Regions from separate parts of the Homo sapiens genome. Here region 2 is linked to region 1. Evidence: promoter capture Hi-C in human tissues and cell types (Jung and others, 2019). All regions are on one chromosome and are shown on one strand. Each heading gives the region's core, a stretch centred on a gene start or on the middle of the fragment in contact. The rest is flanking DNA. Distances are from core to core; before and after follow the strand shown.

Evidence for each region. The method cuts DNA at HindIII sites, captures the fragments that hold promoters and counts their contacts. A contact is called where the count stands out against the background at its distance.
Region 2: a contact is called between a fragment that was not itself captured here and the fragment with the promoter of LYPLA2 in region 1, in 2 of the 25 tissues and cell types used here (mesendoderm cells and thymus).

What each region holds. Positions count from the first base shown.
Region 1 is chr1:23,788,245-23,795,866 of GRCh38, reverse strand. LYPLA2 (lysophospholipase 2) reads right to left here and starts at 4,722. Exons shown (of 10, transcript NM_007260.3): 1 at 4,617-4,722; 2 at 3,107-3,210; 3 at 2,828-2,859; 4 at 2,651-2,716; 5 at 2,115-2,162; 6 at 1,937-2,007; 7 at 1,731-1,804; 8 at 1,542-1,643; 9 at 1,267-1,440; 10 at 328-1,185. The coding sequence starts at 3,184. The coding sequence ends at 1,135. LOC105376860 (a long non-coding RNA gene) reads left to right here and starts at 2,335. Exons shown (of 2, transcript XR_947067.3): 1 at 2,335-2,395; 2 at 5,077-5,253. GALE (UDP-galactose-4-epimerase) reads left to right here. Exons shown (of 12, transcript NM_001008216.2): 12 at 1-268. RefSeq lists a silencer at 4,485-4,544. The HindIII fragment of the contact is 2,550 bases long and covers 4,167-6,716 here.
Region 2 is chr1:23,360,629-23,368,250 of GRCh38, reverse strand. ZNF436 (zinc finger protein 436) reads left to right here. Exons shown (of 4, transcript NM_001077195.2): 2 at 186-278; 3 at 1,083-1,209; 4 at 5,030-7,622. The coding sequence starts at 246. The coding sequence ends at 6,282. Among named protein-coding and RNA genes, the nearest start is that of ZNF436-AS1, 4.5 kb to the left of the region's middle. RefSeq lists an enhancer at 276-475 and a silencer at 421-715. The HindIII fragment of the contact is 3,881 bases long and covers 2,595-6,475 here.

The DNA.
Region 1 (7,622 bases), core at 3,473-5,972:
CTGGGGCCAAGCCAAGGCCTCCCCTACCTCAAACCCCAGCTGGGCCCGCTTAGCCCACCAGGCATGAGGCCAAGGGCTCCACTGACCAGGAGGCCGAGGTCTCTAACTCTTATCTTCCACAGGGTCCAAGAGTTCATCAGGACCCCCAAGAGTGAGTGAGGGGGCAAGGCTCTGGCACAAAACCTCCTCCTCCCAGGCACTCATTTATATTGCTCTGAAAGAGCTTTCCAAAGTATTTAAAAATAAAAACAAGTTTTCTTACACTGGGGCAGGTTCTCACAGATGGTCACTATCCACCCCTGGAATAGAATCAGCCAGGCCTGAGCGTTGAGGAAGCAATTTCTTTAATTTTATCGGAATCCAGGACACAACAAGAAAAACACCCAAAAACCACATGGAGACAGAAGACGAGACACAACTCCTCCCCCACTGCCTCCCTGCTCTAGAGTGGGGACAAAGTGGGGGTGAGACAGCTGGGGGGAGACCTGAACCTCAGTCCAGCCCTACAGGCTCCAGGCCTGCAGGGAAGGAGGGTAACGGGGAGGCAGGGCCCAGCCCCCCAGTGTGGGGAAACAGCTGAGGGAAGGCCCCCCTCAAAAGGCTCCACCTCCTCACCAGCACTCCTGCCCAGGGACAGGGAGCCCACAGCAGCAAGGGGACCCCGGGGCCATGGCCACATTCATGACTGAGAAGCAGCTGAGTGGAGGCAGGAGACACGATTATCTGGGCAGAATCAGTTGGGGCAGGGGCCTGGGGGGGCCCCATGGGCCAAACCCTGAGGTCACAGGAGGGGGCCCAAAGCGGGGCTAGTGAGTGAGGTCCTGAGTGAGTGGGTCAGCGGCTGGGCCCCTTTCTCCAGCTGCCTGTAGCCCCTCCAATACTGCTGCCAGGGGGGCCCGCCTCCAGGGAAATGGATAAGAAAGCAGCCTGCCCCTGCTGCAGACAGAGCCAGGTGGCTAAGGCCAGGAAGGAAGGCCCGGCCAGGCCTTGCCACCTGCCCCCAGAGGCCTGTGGGAAAAGGACAGGTCAGGAAGGGTGGGGACAGGGGCTCGACCGGCTCAGATCCAAGATGGTGCCACGCTTGCTTGCTGAGTCCCCCATGAGCTGGGGTACTGCACTGGGGCCAGCGACTAGTTAGACAGGAGGCAGCAGCTTCTCAAGAAATTCCTTCACAGCTGCCATCTCCTGAGGGGATTAAGAGGGGATCACGAGAGGCACCTGGCTGGAGGCAGAGAAGTGGGAGTGGGAAATGGTCCCCCCACTGACCTGAGGACAGGAGCTGTGCATGACACCCGGGTATGTCTTGAACTGGACCCTGGCAGGTGTGACAACAGACCGGAGCTTCTCAGCCGTCAGGGCCCCAAACCGTACGGGCACCATGGGGTCCAGCTCCCCATGGCACTGGAGTATGGCCAGGTCCTTGGCACTGCCATTAGCTGCCTGGAGGCCGGACAGGACTCAGGGCAAAGCTAGTGCTGCAGCAGTCCCCAAGCCACGAGGATGCAGACACAAAGGGCGGGGGGGTCAGTGGGGACATTCACCTGGGGGAAGGCCCGGTGCAGAGGCAGCCAGCAGCTCAACGCCACGATGCCAGCCAGAGGGTGGGGGCAGGTGAGGGCCGTGTAGAGGGACAGGGCCCCGCCCTGGAGGGAGGAGAGAGAGGGGTCATGAGGGCACAGCTCACTCACCGGCCACCCCTACCCCCTACCCCCCCACCCCTCTCCCCTCACCTGTGAAAAGCCTCCCAGGACGATTCGATTGGCAGGGATCCCGTTCTTCATTTCATGCTCAATCAAGGCCTTGACTGGGGGAGGGGGCATGAGTGGGTAGAGGGAAGCTGCCAAGGGGCCCAATAAGGGAGCTAGGCTGAGGAACCGCCCAGCGCTTTCCTGGGGGGCAGGGGAAGGAGGATGTGGAGGAGGGGCTGGGGTCTTACTGTTCTCTGCTGCCTTCTTGATGCCAGCCTCGTCCTCTGGGGCATCTGGACTCAGCCCCATCAGGTCAAACCTTGGGAGTAGAGGCACTGGCAGCTATAGAAAACCCCAGCCAGCCCCCTGTGGCTCCCTCAGCCCAAGTGTCCTCGTCCCCCTGCCCACCCCCACTCCCAAACTCACCAGGAGGGCATCACCATCTTCATGTTGAGGGTCACAGGGATCCTAGGCCTGGGGAAAGAGAGCCAGAGGGCCCATCATGCTCAGGAGGAATGAGGAGGCCAGAGCTCAGAGCCCGGAGTGGGGCCGCGCCGCCCCTGGTGGCCCCTCCCAGCAGGCAGGGCCTGTGTTTAAGGTGTTGCCAGGCAACCTGCCACGTGGGGCTGGAGGCTGTGGTTGGGGCAAAGCGCCAGTAATGGAGAAGCAGAGCCCAGCGCTTGGTGTGACGGGGTCCCAGGTAGTCGGTGAGTACTTGGGGAAGGGGCAAAGGGAGGTGTGGGTTCTAGGAGAGCTCAGGTCTAGGAGGCCCTAGGGCTGGGGGCTGGTGCTGGACCCCACTCCTGGGGGCTCCACAGGAGCTCAGGCTGAAAATGCCACTTCTGACTGCCCTGAGCCCAAGCCCCAGGATGCAACTGACAGGAGAGAACAGGCCTGGGATGACAGGACCACCCCCAGATGATCCCCAGCCTCAGCCCCTCCCTTGCTGGGGTGACACTCACGCATGGGGACAGATGTACTTGACGTGAGGGAGCCGGATGGTGGAGAGGGCGTCAGCCCAGCTGTGCCTGTAGGAGGGACGGGAGAAAAGGCTCCGATGTGGTAGGAAGAGAAGGCCTCTCCAGTCCGCTGCTGGGCCAGGACCCCTCCTTAAGGAGCACCCCTCCTCAGTCACTTACCCTGTGTCTCCAAGTCCATGTAAAAAAATAACCTGGAAAAGGATGGGAAATGGGGAGACAGGAAGGCTTCCCCTAGGTCCTCCAACTTCTGCCCACCCCTCCCCCACCCCCAAGGACCTGGGGGAACCCAGGTAGCAGCCAAACAGGTTACTACCCCGAGCCTGCTGGCCTCAGGATACTCCCTGCTCATCACTGCCACCTCCATTTTCCCACACCCCCTCCAGCCGGTCCTCCAGCTGCTCCCACAGTGTCTGGCCGTGGGTGAAAGGGGACCCTTACCGCGGCCGTTTCCCGCTCAGCTCCAGACACGGTGGCAGCATCGGTGAGCAGGGGCACAGACATGGTGTTACCACACATACACCACACGGCTCCACGGCGGGGGCCTGCATACATCGGGGCGGCGGTCAAGAGCAAAACCAGGCACAGGACACACTCCTGGCCCAAGAGGCCACCAGGCCATCAGCCCCACACAGCACCCAGGTTCTGTCCTGGGCACAAAGAATAGTCAAGCAAGAAGTCCCAGGGCACAGGAGAAGAAGTCTGCCTCAGTTCCAGGGCTGAAAGGCAGAGACAGCCTCCCTAGTGGCCCAGAACATGTGTCTCTGGTTCTGGCCCAACCACAGGACCTGAGCTTGCTGGAGACAGGCAGAGGCAGGGCATAGGGACTGTAGGGCAGGGGGCAGAGGGGAGGCAGCGGCACGCCTGCTTCATTCCCCCTCTAACTCCTCAGGGGTGAGTGCCTTCCCCCTCCTCTCCAATCATCCCTGGGTCCCTGCCTCCCCAACTCCGGGCCCTATGGGAAATGGAGAGAAAAGTGCCAGGGAAAGGAGCTTCCATCCCCTACTCAGTGCCGCCTCCAACCCCCATCTCAACCTCCCCCCACCCAGCCCCCATCCAGCCTTCACAGCAGTTTCTGGCCCATCCATTCCCAGACCCCCAGGGGGCTGCCCATGTCCCCAGAAAGCGTAAGAACTCCACCCACCCCCAAACTGGTGCTCCACGCCCCCCCTAAACGGAGCTACCTGCTGCTGCTGCCACTGACTGCAAACGAGCCCTGGCTTGACCACGCTCTGGGACTCCCAAACACACAAAAGAATGTCAGGCTGGCTGGCCCCTCCCCATCCTCGGCGTCCTCCAAACTCGCCGGAAGCTTCCACTACCTGCCTCAAGTGCCTGCCCACCCCTCCCAACTGGCCTCACCTTCCATCTCTGACCCCTGAGGGCAGCTCCCCACAATGGGATCGTTCACCTGTGACCCGGGGTTCCTCTTCCCATGGGGAATGCACCTCCTGCCCTGAGCTGCGATTCCCTTCCTTCTCCACCGTGGGGACTTGCACCTCCCGCCCAGGCTCCCTCCTCGGAGGGGTGCCTTCCCCCTGACCTGTCTCTCTCTATACACCTTGAGAACTTCCACCCTGACCCAGGATCTCCCGCTCCCCACAATGGGAACTTCTGTTCTGACCAAAGGTCACCCTACCCAGTGAAATTTTCTACCCTGACCCAGGACTCCCACCTGCCCACAATAAAGCTTTGTACCTTTGACTCTGGGGAAGCCCCCGCCCCACAATGGGCTCTTCTATTTCCGACCCTGAAGTCTGTCTCTTTATACTCAGACACCCCCTTGCCTAGCCCCGCTCCACTCCCGAAGTCCCCAAGACTGGACAGCGCCTTCGCACCTCACTCCCCACCCCCATCCCCCCCATCACGGTTCCCCCTCCCCGCTCTCCGGGACCCTCCCGAGGCCGACCTCCCCCTACACGCCCATCCTCCGCAGCCGCCGGCTGGGTACCTCCACTCCCTGGGACTTCCGAGGCCGCTTGGGCGATTCTCCTCTTTCTCCCGCAGACACACTCTTCCCCCTCGGCCGCCCCCGCCGGAACTTCCGTTCGAGTCCCGGGAACCCAGCCATCGCGCTGCCGGAAGTAGCCTGGCCGACAGTACGGAACCCGGAAGCGGGGACCCGGCTTCGCTGGATAGAAGCTGCCATGTTGGAGGCGGCGGGGCTACTCCCTGTCATTCAGCCGCGCAGTCGCTGGGTTCTCACCCGCTCCCACCTTGTAGATTCGAGACAGGGCACCCAAGACTCCCACTTGCTACCACCACCCATGCGCCTCCTGGAGGAGGGCCGACCGGAAGGAGAGGCATCCCTCACACTATTGTTTGCATAAACTTTACCACCTTCCCATCCTCATGGGACACACCTCTTAAGGCCTCGGGTGTCTGCCACTGGCTTTCATGCCCTATTCCAGGATCATGAATGGAATGACACACTCTGAACCGAAGAGACCTTACAGATCATCTAGTTCTCCAGCCTTGAAGATGGGGAAACTGAGGCTCAAGGAAGGCATGTAAACAGCAACCTCGGGATTCCATTTAAATTCTGCCTCTCTGGATCTGCTTCCTGATATATAAAATGGTAATAACCACCCTGCCTCCTTCACAGCTTTGTTGGTAGGCTTAAATGAGGTTGTGTGAACATGGTTTATACAGTAAAATCACAGCGTGAGGTGTTAATCACGCAAAAAAGGACCTAGGAAAAATACAAAGGCCGTATCAGGAGAGCTGGACAGGCACTGGCAGTGTTAGCGCTGCCCTTCACAAGCAATGTCATGCAGACAGTGCACAAAACGCTGCCATCAAGCTGAAGTGGAAATAGGTATCAGGGACCACAGAAAAGTCAGAAGGCAGGCAAACTGAGTTGAAGGAGCATGTCCCTGAGAATGTGTGGGGATCTGCAAATAGGAAATGAGTCACACTTGACCCTCAGCCGCTTAGGACTCACTCTCCCAGCCTAACCTATACTAGTGTTTTCTTTGAACAGAAAGAAAACAGTACAGCCAGGCGCGGTGGCTCACTCCTGTAATCCCAGCACTTTGGGAGGCTGAGGCGGGCGGATCACGAGGTCAGGAGATCGAGACCATCCTGGCTAACACGGTGAAACCCTGTCTCTACTAAAAATACAAAAAATTAGCCTGGCGCTGTGGCGGGCGCCTGTAGTCCTAGCTACTCGGGGGGAGGCTGAGGCAGGAGAATGGCGTGAACCCGGGAGGCGGAGCTTGCAGTGAGCCAAGATAGTGCCACTACACTCCAGCCTGGGCAACAAAGCGAGACTCTGTCTCAAAAAAAAAAAAAAAAAAAAAAGAAAGAAAAGAAAAAGAAAACAGTACAAAGTTGGAAGCTCAACAAAGCACTTTCCCCCAGGCCCAGAGGCACTTTGGTCCTAAGTACTCAACAGGTCAGGGAGCCTACAATACCAGGATTCGGGGCAGGAAACCTTTGAGCCTATGGGACCACCACAAGCCAAGGACCCAGGACTGAATGTCAAAAGAAAATGGAGGGTAATGTCCCCACTTATGGAAGAATGAACAGTTCCTCCTGCAACCTCGATCACCTGAGACACCATGACACTTAAAACAAATTCTTCAGAGTGAAGCTTCAAATTCAGAGGCTCAGTCCCAGGAGCTGTGATTAATGCTTTAATTAGTGGAATTAGTGAAGGGCTAGTCTGCTCTAAGATTTTTAACTTTATTTTTCCCCCTACTCCAAATTTAAACATAGCCCTTCTTTTAACTCCAAAAAATGATCCAACTGAAATAAAGAGGCTGTGGCTGAGTGAATAGGACCCTTCATGCTTTTCAAGAACAGCATTTGCATTCTGGTTTATTTCAGGCTGCATTTTAGAAATTTTGAGGGCCAACAAGGTTTGGTGGTAGCAGACCTTTCCTAGGACAGGCTGGAGAAACAGTGGCTATATCCTCCAAACAACAGCATGGGCCAATGCCTCAGAGGAATTCTCCCAAAAGGATCAGATTCAACACTAATTCCCTTTATTACCTGTTCCTGTTTTCTGCAAGGGAGAGAATACTGACCATATCAAATCCCCTTTTTAGATACTTACATTCTCTTCAATTGCTAAACTGACTTTCAAAATTTAAGTCCAAAGTCTTTGGTCTACCTGGAGACCACATGAGCTGCTCAATTACTTTCCTCACCCTCATTTCTTCTGATGAGCTCCAAAATCTGTTCTCCCTTATTTTTGTAAATGTCATTCTACAAATCACTTCCTTTTGTGCAAAATGAAATATAGGGTTTTGTTGTTGTTGTTTTGAGACAAGGTCTCACTCTGTTGCCTCAGGCTGGGGTGCAGTGGCGCAATCATGGCTTACTGTAGCCTCGACCTCCTGGGCTCCAGTGATCCTCCCACCTCAGCCTCCCAAGTGGCTGGGACTACAGGTGCACGCCACCATGCCCAGTTAATTTCTGTGAAATACAGGTTTTCAACCCCACCTTCTTCTTTACTATATATGGGTGTAGGAGTGTTTTTGGCCTACTGTACAAAATTAAGCTTGACCATTCCTGGAGAAACTGATCCAGTCTTGATTTTTTTTTTTTTTTTTTTTGAGACGGAGTCTCACTCTGTCACCCAGGCTGGAGTGCAGTGGTGCAATCTCAGGTCACTGCAAGCTCCGCTTCCCGGGTTCATGCCATTCTCCTGCCTCAGCCTCCTGAGTAGCTGGGACTACAGGCTCCCGCCACCGCACCCGGCTAATTTTTTGTATTTTTGGTAGAGACGGTTTCACCGTGGTCTCGATCTCCTGACCTCGTGATCCGCCCACCTCGGCCTCCCAAAGTGCTGGGATTACAGGCGTGAGCCACCGCGCCCGGCTCCAGTCTTGATTTAATTGTGGCACTTCCTATAATCTACCTAGTCCAAAACAACAACAAAAAATTTCAAAGTTCAGTACAGTTCCCCATGAAATGAAAGTTGCATCAGTGGCTATCAAGAACTCAAAAG
Region 2 (7,622 bases), core at 3,286-5,785, 430 kb after region 1:
CGGCATTGCCTCCACCCCGCTGTGGCGGAGACGCAGAGGGCGGGTCGCGCTCGAGGGTCAGGGAGGAGAGTGACCCGGCCCTGGTCCAGGGCCCTCCCTGCCCGCCTTGGGGCCAGAACTCCAGCCCTGGGGAGTGGGCAGGGCCTGTTTTCCGTGCCTCACGCCCTGCTTTTCGCCTCCTTCAGCGCTGTCTGCTAGCTGCTTTTCCTGCTCTCTCTCCCTGGAGGCGAACCCTTGTGCTCGAGATGGCAGCCACCCTGCTCATGGCTGGGTCCCAGGTAAGCCGGAGGTGGCTTCTCAGACCTTGTCTCTGCTTACCCACCTCGTCCGGCGTTTCTCTGCTCTGCAAGTCCCTGTGGGAAATTCCCTGGGATTAGTAATTCGCTGGCTTCGATATTCTGCCTCCAGGGGCCTAGTACCAGGCCAGTATAGTCACAAACAAACATATATCGAACACCTGCTGTATGCCTTTAAATACTGGGGAGATAAAAGATGGACGAGATGGGCGCTACCTTCTAGCTCACAGCTCACAGTTCACAATCTGTAGGGAGAAAGGCGCATCCACTTAAGCGTGGCACAACGTAGTAAGTGCTCTACTTGCTGTAGGAACAAAGTGCTGTAGTGTGGGAATCACTCCCAAGAAGTCGGCGTGATTAAGTCTATCTGGGGCATCCAAGGGGAGTGGAGCCGTGCAGAGGGGTAGGGGGCATTGAAGAACAGTTAGTACTGCAGCGGGACCTTAAAGAGTAGTAGAATTTCTCTAGTGTGAGAAGAATATTCCAGGAAAAGAGGAACATTATGAGTAAAGGTATGGAGCGATGCAAGTGCCAGATATGTCCTGAGAAAGTCACAGCCAGAGGATAAAGTTCCTGAGTGGGGCAGGGATAGCTGGCCATGGGACCAGAGCAATCAGCTCATAAATTGCTGCCTTCTTTACCACATCTCTTTTTTGCTTGTTTATTTCTTATTTGGACTCTATAGGTCACATTTAATATATTTTTCCTCCTGAATATTTCTAATCATGTTTCTAATTTCAAGAAGTCCTAAATACAGAATAGTAGGGAAGTATCGTGTGATTTCAGGCACCTGTGACGTTTGAAGATATGGCCATGTATCTCACCCGGGAAGAATGGAGACCTCTGGACGCTGCACAGAGGGACCTTTACCGGGATGTTATGCAGGAGAATTATGGAAATGTTGTCTCACTAGGTAAGTAAGGATTCTACCTTTCTTTGCCTCCACGTTTTTGAGATCGTGTCAAAATGACTTAGTTCTTTCAACACAGCCTAGTGGTTTGATTTTTTAAAGCACTTAATTGGATATTGGCTTGACTTGAGTCCTCAGGCAGATCTTTGAATATGGGAACATCCAGGTCATATTGTCTAAAAAGAAAAAAACTGCTTCTGCACGTCTTAGACGTTCAGATTTCTTGTGCCCTGAGTCATTTTCCAATCTCCAGCCTGTTTGTACAGATCACTGACCAAACAGGTCTGGCATAATAGTGCTTGCCAGAATATAAATGCCCCGTAACTAGTGCTTTTACTCTAGGGTGCTAAAAGATGAGGGGATTCTAACCCAGGTTCATGGGAGGGCGAAAGCCACCTTTTTGTGTTTGTTTTGGCTTCAGAGCCCTAGCTTTGCCTCAAGTTCCTTAGCTGAGTAGATTCTCATCTAGAGATGTTTCAGTGTTGATGATGATAGATTTGTAGTGTGTCAAATGCTGTTCCAGAAGAATGCTGAAATAGATCACAAATTCTATTAGAGAGGGCAGCTGATTTTTTTTTCATGGTCTGCAAGCCTGTCTTCTCTCTTTGCTGTACTTTGGTCTGGGTGTAACTAGAATAAAGAGTATATTCTTGAGCTGAACGGTCTTTTGACTCACTTTGCCTCACTTTGCCTCCTGTCAAGACTTGACAGACATTAGCAAGCGTGTATGGGTCACTAGGTCATTTGCCATTCATTAGGATTAATCCTGTTTTTGAAATCTTTATTCCCATAGCCTTTTTCAGAACAAAAGGCAACTCTGAGGGCTTTCCTTTTTAACTTGAGCTTTCTCTGATGTCCCTAGTTTCTTGAATCCTTTCTTTATAAAAGTAACCATAAATAGTTATCTATCCAGATCTATTGCAGTCTGTAACCCAAATATTCCACTGAATCCAACAAAAGCAAAAAATGACAATCTTTAAAAAATGTGAATTTACAATTCTACAGTTTAGCCCCAAAAGCACTTGTTAGAAGGATGAAAGCGCCAAAAAACTGGTTTCTTGCCCAAATAAGTTTGGGAATGGGAATGGGTTTAAAAATGATTACAAGGCTTTTTTTTTTTTTTTTTTGAGACAGGATCTTGTTCTGTTGCCCAGGCTGGAGTGCAGTGGCACGATCACAACTCATTGCAGCCTTGACTTCCCAGGCCCAGGTCATCCTCCCATCTCAGCTTCCTGAGTAGCTGGGATCACAGATGCGTACCACCTTGCCCGGCTAATTCTTTTTATTTTTTAAAAAATTTTAAATTAATTAATTAATTAATTAATTTTTTTGAAACAGAGTCTCAGTCTGTTGCCCAGACTGGAGTGCAGTGGCCCAATCTTGGCTCACTGCAACCTCTGCCTCCTGAGTTCAAGCAATTCTCCTGCCTCAGCCTCCCGACTAGCTGTGATTACAGGTGCATGCCACCACGCTCAGCTAATTTTTGTATTTTTAGTGGAGACGGGGTTTCACCATGTTGGTCAGGCTGGTCTTGAACTCCTGACCTCAAGTGATCCGCCCACCTCGGCCTCCCAAAGTGCTAGGAATACAGGTGTCAGGCACCATGCTCAGCTTCTTTTTATTTTTTTATTATTTATTTATTTTTTTGTGAGATGGAGTCTTGCTCTGTTGCCCAGGCTGGAGTGCAGTGGCGCGATCTCAGCTCACTGCAAGCTCTGCCTCCCAGGTTCACGCCATTCTCCTGCCTTAGCCTCCTGAGTAGCTGGGACTACAGGTGCCCGCCACCACACTCGGCTAGTTTTTGCGTTTTTTTTTTTTAGAGATGGGGTTTCACCGTGTTAGCCAGGATGGTCTCGATCTCCTGACCTCGTGATCTGCCCACCTCGGCCTCCCAAAGTGCTGGGATTATAGACGTGAGCCACCGCGCCCGGCCTGCCTCTTTTTATTTTTAATAGAAGTGAGACCTCCCTATGTTGCACAGGCTGGTCTCAAACTCCTAGGCTCAAGTGATCCTCCTGCATCAGCCTCCCAAAGTGCTGGGATTAGAGGCCTGAGCTACTGCATCTGGCCTTATAAGGCCTTTTTACCTCAGGATTCCTTAGAACCTTTAATGTGTTATTAGGCATTGTGAATTTTGAAGGAAATGATATTGTATGTACCATTTACCAACCCAGTTTATCCATGAACCCTTTTCTCCCAAAATACATACTTTCTTTCTGAAGAGTGTACTAAGAAACCCAATTTGGAGAATGCAGTGTCTGGTATAAAACTCCTTGTAGACAGTGGTTGTGTATTTTGATTTTCATTTGAAGACTGCATGTGAAATATACTTAGACAATGCCAAGAATGTTCTCAGCCAGACATCTTTTTTGCCTTCTTCAACTTTCCCACTCCTATTTTCATTAAAAGGTCACTGAAAAGTAGGAAGTGACATTTGTCAGTCACTTTTCTGTCAACTATGACATAGGTAAAGATTCATTTTTCTCCATATTAACATAGTTGGTTCTGGCCAGGCACGGTGGCTCACGCCTGTAATCCTAGCAGTTTGGGAGGCTGAGGCGGGCAGATCACCTGAGATCAGGAGTTCAAGACCCGCCTGGCCAACATGGTAAAACCTGTCTCTACTAAAAATACAAGAAAATAGCTGGATGTGGTGGCGGGCACCTGTAATCCCAGCTACTCGGAAAGATGAGGCAGGAGAATCGCTTGAACCCAGGAGGCAGAGGTTACAGTGAGCGGAGATTGCGCCATTGCACTCCGGCCTGGGCAACAAGAGTGAAATTCCATCTCAAAAAACAAAACAAAACAAACAAACAAACAAAAACATAGTGGCTTCTTAGTAAATATTTTATGATGCTACTAATGATGAAGGCTTGGCAAGTTAAAAAATACATACTCACAAAATACCTAGAATCTTGCCTTTTAGATATTCTAATTTAGAGTCTCATATTTTCTGCTTCCAGTGTTCTTTCAAAACACGAATATATATAGTTTTTTTTTTAAGAGACAGGGTCTCGTTCTGTCACCCATATTGGTGTGCGGTGGCACAATCACAGCTTATTGCAGCCTTGAACTCCTGGGCTCAAGTGATCCTCTTACCTCAGCCTCCTGAGTAGCTGGGACTACAGTTGCATGCCACCACATCCACCTAATTTTTTAAATTTTTTTGTAGAGATGGGTTCTCCCTATATTGCCCAGGCTGGTCTTGAACTCCTGGCCTTAAGTGTTCCTCCTGACTTGGCCTCCTAAAGTGTTAGGATTACATGCGTGAGCCACGGCACCTGGCCTGTATAGTTTTCTTAATGAATCATTAATTACAGCGATACAGAATGTGAATTTTGACAGACCTGAGTTTGAATACTGGCTCTACCATTTACTATGGCCTTGAGCAAGTCAATTCACTTGTCTGGGTCTTGGATTTCTCATTAATGAAGTAGAAATAATCACAATTCCTGACTCTCAGAATAGCTGTGATAAAGAATATATGTGACGAAGAATATAAATAATTTAGGCTGGCCACAGTGGCTCAGAAGTTCAATACCAGCCTGACCAATATAGTGAAACCCTGTGTCTACTAAAAATAAAAAAATTAGCCGGGCATGGTGGCGTGCACCTGTAGTCCCAGCTACTCAGGAGGCTGAGACAGGAGAATTGCTTGAACCCAGGAGGCAGAGGTTGCAGTGAGCCAAGATCACACCACTGCACTCCAGCCAAGGCAACACAGTGAGACTCTGTCTAAAAAAAAAAAAAATTTAGTATAGTGCCTGGCACACAATAGGTAATTTTTGTACTTACTAGTCTTATTGTTTACTTTTTATTACAGATTTTGAGATCAGGAGTGAGAACGAGGTAAATCCCAAGCAAGAGATTAGTGAAGATGTACAATTTGGGACTACATCTGAAAGACCTGCTGAGAATGCTGAGGAAAATCCTGAAAGTGAAGAGGGCTTTGAAAGCGGAGATAGGTCAGAAAGACAATGGGGAGATTTAACAGCAGAAGAGTGGGTAAGCTATCCTCTCCAACCAGTCACTGATCTACTTGTCCACAAAGAAGTCCACACAGGCATCCGCTATCATATATGTTCTCATTGTGGAAAGGCCTTCAGTCAGATCTCAGACCTTAATCGACATCAGAAGACCCACACTGGAGACAGACCCTATAAATGTTATGAATGTGGAAAAGGCTTCAGTCGCAGCTCACACCTTATTCAGCATCAAAGAACACATACTGGGGAGAGGCCTTATGACTGTAACGAGTGTGGGAAAAGTTTTGGAAGAAGTTCTCACCTGATTCAGCATCAGACAATCCACACTGGAGAGAAGCCTCACAAATGTAATGAGTGTGGAAAAAGTTTCTGCCGTCTCTCTCACCTAATCCAACACCAAAGGACCCACAGTGGTGAGAAACCCTATGAGTGTGAGGAGTGTGGGAAAAGCTTCAGCCGGAGCTCTCACCTAGCTCAGCACCAGAGGACCCACACGGGTGAGAAACCTTATGAATGTAACGAATGTGGCCGAGGCTTCAGTGAGAGATCTGATCTCATCAAACACTATCGAGTCCACACAGGGGAGAGGCCCTACAAGTGTGATGAGTGTGGGAAGAATTTCAGTCAGAACTCCGACCTTGTGCGTCATCGCAGAGCCCACACGGGAGAGAAGCCATACCACTGTAACGAATGTGGGGAAAATTTCAGCCGCATCTCACACTTGGTTCAGCACCAGAGAACTCACACTGGAGAGAAGCCATATGAATGCAATGCTTGTGGGAAAAGCTTCAGCCGGAGCTCTCATCTCATCACACACCAGAAAATTCACACTGGAGAGAAGCCTTATGAGTGTAATGAGTGTTGGCGAAGCTTTGGTGAAAGGTCAGATCTAATTAAACATCAGAGAACCCACACAGGGGAGAAGCCCTACGAGTGTGTGCAGTGTGGGAAAGGTTTCACCCAGAGCTCCAACCTCATCACACATCAAAGAGTTCACACGGGAGAGAAACCTTATGAATGTACCGAATGTGAGAAGAGTTTCAGCAGGAGCTCAGCTCTTATTAAACATAAGAGAGTTCATACGGACTAAGCTGTAATTATGATGGCTGAGAAATGATTCATTTGAAGATACAATTTTATTTGATATCAATGAACGCCCTCAAGACTGAGCTGCTTTTATCATACTCTCCTAGTTGTGGGCCACGATTTAAACCATCAGAGATGACAAGCCATTTGAAATTCTGACCCTCAGCTTTGGGAATGTTATCTCCTCCAAAATGGTGATTTTTATTCACTCAATGGGTTACTTCATTAAAAGCAGCCCCACAAGTAACTGGAAATCTGAAGACCAGGGGACAAATGCTGGTGAATGCTTAGGCCTGGAAATGGAGTAAATCTTTCAATGTTATTTTCTCCCATCCTTGGCCCAAGGAACTATGCTAAGTGAAACGTGGGACTGTAATAGGGTGGTAATGGCTGCTTTGGAAAAAGGCAACTAGAGACTCTGCCTAAATTGCCACACCTATTCACACACCATAGTAGTTGGGCACACACATCTTCCCTTCCAAAGGGCTTTTTCCTTGAGTTGCTCATGCATTTGTATCTTTTCCATCTTCCTGAGGGCAAGATTTTGCACGATGAAGGCAATGATTGTAACTTTTCTCCTTCTCATTGTTTCTAATTAGCTCCTTTAAAGCTTGCATCTTTGTGAAGGCTAACTGAAGATACGGTTGGAAAGGAAAAATGAGACACAGGTTTGGGGACCAAGGACCCATCAATGATGGTGACTTTAGCAGAAGATGCCCACAGTTATTACTGCCATTAATCAGATTTATGAATTTTCTTTGGGGATCACTATAGGGAATATTGTATAGAAAATATCTTCAAGAAAAGATAGGACCATCAGTGACAGTTAAGTGTAAGGAGCAAGTGGAATTGAGTCCTTCAGGGAAGGAACCACAGAGTCCCTTCCCAAGGAATGTAGGTCGTTTCTGTGTTCTTTCCCTTCTAATCTTTAAGATCAACTCTTCCTATCCTGCTAACTCTAAGATTTGATAAGGGCCACATCCCAGTGTTTATCTTAGCTTGCATCAGGGCATGTGTATGTACAGTAATGTGTATTCCTGTGGTTTTTCTAATAGAAACTGAATTTACAGAGACTTAGCATGTTCTTGGGTGATGTGAGTCATGTGACAGAAGTACAGACATAACTCCAATGTGAGAAATGTCCTTTTTTCATTATGGAAAATAATTTAAACACTAGTGCTTTAGTGTGCACTCTCCTGTAAGGTCTGTCTTTGTACAGAGCTAAGCACTTGTTTGTATGTGTTTGTCAATTGTGGAAGATAATGACCAGACAAATAGGTCGATTGTCCTATTCTCAGAATGAATTATCTTCTATGGTAATGAAGAACTCTTTGGCTTAGTCAG